2 separate regions of the Homo sapiens genome follow, and region 2 is linked to region 1. The links are contacts of gene promoters, found by promoter capture Hi-C in human tissues and cell types (Jung and others, 2019). All regions are on one chromosome and are shown on one strand. The core of a region is centred on a gene start or on the middle of the fragment in contact, and the rest is flanking DNA. Distances in the headings are between cores, read along the strand shown.

The links. The method cuts DNA at HindIII sites, captures the fragments that hold promoters and counts their contacts. A contact is called where the count stands out against the background at its distance.
Region 2: a contact is called between a fragment that was not itself captured here and the fragment with the promoter of GNPAT in region 1, in 3 of the 25 tissues and cell types used here (dorsolateral prefrontal cortex, pancreas and psoas muscle).

Annotation. Positions count from the first base shown.
Region 1 is chr1:231,239,680-231,242,624 of GRCh38, reverse strand. It overlaps GNPAT (glyceronephosphate O-acyltransferase), which reads right to left and starts at 1,413. Exons shown (of 16, transcript NM_014236.4): 1 at 1,169-1,413. The coding sequence starts at 1,246. FSAF1 (40S small subunit processome assembly factor 1) reads left to right here and starts at 1,450. Exons shown (of 7, transcript NM_152379.4): 1 at 1,450-1,601. The coding sequence starts at 1,484. RefSeq lists enhancers at 511-1,400, 1,381-1,720. The HindIII fragment of the contact is 11,594 bases long and covers 1-2,945 here.
Region 2 is chr1:230,837,622-230,840,566 of GRCh38, reverse strand. It overlaps C1orf198 (chromosome 1 open reading frame 198), which reads left to right. Exons shown (of 4, transcript NM_032800.3): 4 at 659-2,945. The coding sequence ends at 715. Among named protein-coding and RNA genes, the nearest start is that of C1orf198, 29 kb to the left of the region's middle. The HindIII fragment of the contact is 5,884 bases long and covers 1-2,945 here.

The DNA.
Region 1 (2,945 bases), core at 164-2,663:
CTCTGGAGTAGCAGAGTCAGAAAACAAAGTTGATATCCACCACAGAACTGTGGGGAAGATAAGATCAATGAAGAGATATATCTAAATAATAAGGCTTATAGGCAGTTAGCAATCAGAAACCGAAAGGTCTTGATAGAGAGGGAACAGAAGTTTCTCCATGTTCCAAAGAATATTGGTGTCTCAATTTGAAGGAACCCATATATTCTCTTTCAAAACTGGGGTGTTTATCTTGCTCTGCTGTGTTATCCCTGTTTTGACCTTTCTGCACAAATGAACACTACATTTAAGCCAAAATTGGACAGTAATCACCAGGATATGCTAATATGCTTTTAAAATGAATTCTTTCATTTTCTCCTAAAGTAGCTAAAAACTAATTTAGTGGTTAAAAACAACAAGAAACAAACAAAAACCAAACCAGTTGCCCCAGGTCTGTGCAATCCTGAAGGCTATAAAGCTCCCATCTCATAATTTCTTCATGAAAATCGTGGGTGACCAACATCTGCCAGCCAAAAAGACCCGTTAAAACCAAGAGAGGAAGAGGGGGTTGGAGGAAAAAAAGACAAGCGGGAGAGAAGCTGGGTGGCGCTGGCTGTCCTCCAAAATGATTTGTGGAAAAGGTACAATAATGACTGGAAGACAAGAACAGGCAATAAAAATGTCTAGAAGTTCTAAATTTTCCTGAAGTGTTTAAAACTCTATTCCCACATACAAGCCAAGTGCTCTACTCCCAGGAATATAACAGCAGCATAGGGCGGGGTGCGGAGCCACAGGCTATCTCAGGGCGGGTCAAACCCGCAAGTTTCTCAGGTTTGCCCAAAAGGTAGCTCGACATGCCCTCGCTAGAGATGGGGAGACTCCAATTCTCATTCCTCATTCTCGTGTCCAGGAGCTTTCTGAAGGCCCCAGGGCCTGATAGAAAGAAAGAGAAGGAAAAAGTGGAAAGGAACCAAAGGAACCATAATCCGTAGAAACTTCCAAAAGCATGCACACACAGACACACAGCGATACACTGTTGTCCTGGAAACCAATCCAACCAACTAACCCCTCCTCGGGAGCCTAGGGGCCAGCTCTTTTGGGCAAGGGTGGTGGGCCGGAGGAATAGGGACTGGGAGAAAGGGGTACTATTTCGCGCGGCTCCGCTCTGGGCCTCTTTTCCCTGGGCGCCTACCGAGTAGAGGAGCACGACAGCGCTGGGACTGGTTGGGCCAACGGAGAAATAAGAGTTAGATGAACTGGAAGACTCCATGGTGCGGCTGCCTTCCCGGGCGGGGTCTGGGATTCTTTGCTAAGCCGTGGTGGTGCTCCTGCTGGGGGCGGTTCTTTCGCTCAGGACGGCCCTACTTCGCCTAGGGCGGCGGCACCCTCTGCAGCCGCTACACAGGATCCCGGGCGCCGCCATCTCAGCCAGGACGGAAGCCGCGCAGGGCCCTGCAGCGCATGCGCGCAGTCGCGGAACCCGGAAGCGGGGGTGCAGCGCGGCAGAATGAGGGTTGATTCCTCGGCTGACCCCACAATGTCGCAGGAGCAAGGGCCGGGGTCCTCCACGCCTCCCAGTTCTCCGACACTTCTTGACGCTCTGCTCCAGAACCTTTACGACTTTGGTGAGTGCGGGGTCCCAGGAGCCCACGTGGAGAACAGATTTGAGGAACGTGGGTCTCCTGTGTTGCCCGTCCTGGGTTGGCCTCTGCTTTGAGGCTAAAGGTTCTTGCATGTCAAGCACCCTTCGTCCCACCTGGTTCCAGTAGCGAACACATTTCTCCATCGGAAGTCACCCCTCGACCGGGCTCTGCTGAGTTATTCATCAAACCTTCCAACTCGTCCCCAAGTGTGGGGACCATCCTACTTGCTTGTAGGAAGCACCAAGGCTTTCCGATTTAAAAGTAGCCCGCTTTTCCACGTTTTCTTGAGCCCTGGGAAGTCCCCTTTCCCCATGCCACCCCCAAGACCTGCCTGACCCTGGTGCGATGGTGTCATTTCGCTCTGGGGCCTCGGGCCTGTTGGATAATACACCAGCTTCATCCTTGTGTGTCCCTCTCCAGAGACATCATAGTCCTTGGCGAGTTGTCCTTTTCACGACTTTTTTTTTTTTAAACAAGTGCGCTGATCTTTTACTCTCCGTTCTTTGTCTTGATGGGGGAAAAGGAAAATAAAAGAGCCTATTAAAGTCGCATGGCATGTCAGTAGGAAGACAGTGCCTCATACTCTGAAGAGCTTTCCCGGGAGAAGGTGACACCCTTTGCACATGCACCAAAGAAAATCATTAGATTTCAGGACAACACACATTTCTTAAATTTACAGCGTGATATTTTAAAAGCTATTTTTATTTTGGAATGACTGCTCAAAATTCTAAGTTCACCTAAACAGTAGGAATAATAGTTAAAACTGTTGAGAACTTGCCATATAGCACATGCTTTTCGTGTATTTGCTCATTTAATTTTCAACTTCATGAAATAGACACTGTCATAAATCCATGATTGCAGATGTAGAAACAAGTACTAGAAGTTCATGAAACCTGATGCAGGTTGTCTGACTGGTAATTTTTGCAGAGCCTGGGTTCTGATTCTAGCCCCAGACCCCATGCTTGTATTAACTAGCATTTCTGTGCCCTTGGACATATTGGAGGACAGAGAAGACTTAGTCTCTGACCTTGAGAAGTTTAAAATCTAGAGGAAAAGACTATTCTGCAAAATAATATAGTTCATGTCAACACAGGCTGGAAATCATGGTAGGAGCTCTGAAGGCATTGAATGTGTCTATTCATTTTTATATCCTTAATGCCAAAGTTTAGTTGGCTCTTAAATGTTTATTGTATAAAAGATTAAGCAAATAGTAGCAAGCATAAATCAGCAGCTGGTAATTTAGAGAGCTCTGTGGTATTTGTAATACATGTGAGTAAGGATGCCTAGGATTCTGGTTAGAACTTTCAGGTGACTGGTCAGAGCTTC
Region 2 (2,945 bases), core at 172-2,671, 400 kb after region 1:
AAGAGGGGACCTGTCAGTTAAGCCCTTTCCCCTGAAAGAAGAATGACATTAAACCAGGCCTTGTGGTGCACGCCTGGTGCATGCCTGTAGTCCCAGCTACGTGGGAGGCCGAGGCAAGAGGATCGCTTGAGCCCCGGAGGCTGAGCTTAGAGTTTGGGAAAATCACTTCATAACCTTTCACAAGATCTGAAAGAAATAAGCTTCACATTCTTTCCACACTATGTTTACTTTCTCAACTTTACAAGTTCTTTTTTGTTGTGTTTGTGTGTGATGTTTGTTTTATATTTGAAGGAATATCTTTATCATTTGTTCTCTTATTTAGGATGAATAAATTTAAACATGGCTGTCATTCAGAAACAGAAAAGATTTATAGAAAAATACAGAGACATTGTTCTTTTCTCTGTAAGGTCTGTAAGCTGCTCACAGACATGCCTGGGGTTGAAGAGGGGTTAGTGTTGGATGCTGGCAGAGTATAGATTGCATTGAACTGTATTTAATCTTCTGATTTCAAGCACTGAGATAAATTGAGGTCAGGGAACCTCTGAGACAGAAGTAGGCTCTTTTATCTGGGTCGTTTTAAATGAGATGCTGTTTTTAGATTATACGTAACTGAAAAAAAGAGGCTCGTCTTACTTCCATGTTTTTGTCCCTTCTACAGGTCAGCTCAAGTAATGTCGTCTTGAAGACGGGATTTGATTTTCTGGACAATTGGTAAAATGTATTAGAAAAATACAATGAAGAACCCTAAAATGTTTTCCAAAGTGGTGTGGTGGAGGAGGATAAAAAGGGCCACCTTTTCCTATGTATTTTACTGGTTTCTTGACACTCTTTTCTTAATCATTTGGAAACTGGTCAATATTGCCAGATTTTTTTCTTTTTTGGTAGAACCAGATATATATGCTATTTTCAGTGATTTGATAACAGAAGTTTTCCATTTGGAATTTTTAAGGTCTGTTAATAATTCAGGAGATCTTGTAAATAAAACTTCTGTTCCCAGCTCCACCCAACTTTCCCCCTCCTCAAAGGATGTGTTTCAACCATGTCACAAAAATCATATAAGTGATTTCCATCTCCTTCTCCATTATTCCCCCTCCCCCCTCCGCTTTTTACCGTATGGGTTCCTTTTGGTGGGTGATTGAGGGTGATGTTATCAGCCATGACATCAGCATGCTGGCTGTGACCCCGGAAAGACTGGCCCCCAGCGACGTTCTCAGCCAGCGCTCGCAGCTGTCCGGGGCTTCTCTGGCAGAAGCCATGTCTCTCACATCATGTGCCAGCCTCCACCCTCACGCCATTTCCAGGGAACAGACTGCGGGTATGTAGCAGTGTAGTCTTTAACCTGCTCTGATACATATTCAGAGTATGGATTGTTGTTTAAAAAGAGTTGCATGTTTAAAGAGTTTTGTACTAGCTTTTCATTATTTTGTATCTAGATTATCAACAATGGGGCTACCACTTTCCTTGGTTTTATATCCATTTCCTCTTGGAAGTTCTTGTTGCTTATGTGACCTGTTGGTTGTTCCCCGGACTGGGCACCTACAGGAGTCAGGGCAGACGGCAGATGTGGCTGGAGGTCAGGGCTCTTCTGCTTAGTTGTGTTAGAGTCTTCCAGCATGGGACTGATGGGAGCAGTGGGCATTCTTTATCCCAAGGGCTAGCCAGGTTGCGTCATGACGGACCTTCCCCAGCCCTGACCACCACCAGAAGTGGAAGAGTGGAGTTTGCGGTCAACTCAGCAGTGCCCATGGAGACCTGCGTGGTGTCAGAGCAGCAGTATCTCTTGGAGCTGGTGCAGACACCAAGGCTGCCCAGTGGTACAACGTGGTCCACCTCCCCTAGGGAAGCTGCTGCACTCAGAGGCTGTCCTGCCCAGTGGCCCCTGAGCCGTGTGAGCCTGCAGGAGGCGTCTGAGCAGAGCCTCAAGCCCGGTATGGCGCCATCTCCATGTTGCCATCACTGCGTTCTCACCTGAAGCCTTAATCTTTGCGACACCTGCCAGTGAGCGCTCGGTTTCAATACCAAAGTGTGTCTTCTTCTTTTTTTTTTTTTTTTAAATGCCTGTTTCATAGGACCTTCTGAAATGATTTCCAGAATATTTTATCTGGCTCCAAAATAAAGCACATAGCAACTCACCTCAACCCCTCATCATCTCCAGGAAAGTTTCTGCCAAAGCTGTGGCATAGCCAACTTTTGATTTGGTTCTTGCCAATTGTTTTATGTCCCTAAACCTCATTTGGATCCTTGGGGTATAGTTTTATCTTTCTGCTTCAGTGATTTACTGTAACTTTTCAAATATTGGTTCTTTCTGTACCATTTAAGTATAGTTGATATATGTGAGGCAAAAAAAGGTTTCAGCATGGTGGTGAGGGAAAAAGGAGCTTAGAAATCCCAGTTGGCACAGCCTGGGCAAGCGCCAGCTCCCCTCAGGGCTAACGGCACTGTTCACACAGGGATCCTCAGAATCAGCGGCCACCTGCCTCCACCTTCTGCCTGGAGGGCATGGGGCTGTTGTAGAACCTATGGTAGCAAATGTATATGTATGAGTTTGTATTCTGTAGTGTTGGTGTAGCACAGAAGAAAGACCTGTGTCCTAGAGAGTAGGCCAAGGTGATCTGCCTCTTCTATTGGGAGAAATTCTAATTTCTTTCCCACTTTCTCAACAAGCCCAATATTCCCTCCAAGTTCTTCTTGGTGCTGAGGGCTGTAGGAATTATTGAAAGCTTCTGCCTCACTTAGTATCGTCTGGGGCCCAGCACCCAGCAATAACTCTAATAATGTTTCTTAATGGTATAGCCTCCTGAGATTAAATGTAAAATCAAAAATTAGGAAATCTTGGAGGGAGTCCTCAAGTTGTATTGCTTTGCTGTGCTTTTGGAAGAAGGGACGACCTGGAGGACACAGGCTCCTGTGTGGGTCTTCATCCTGCCTGACCGGCAGATCTTCCT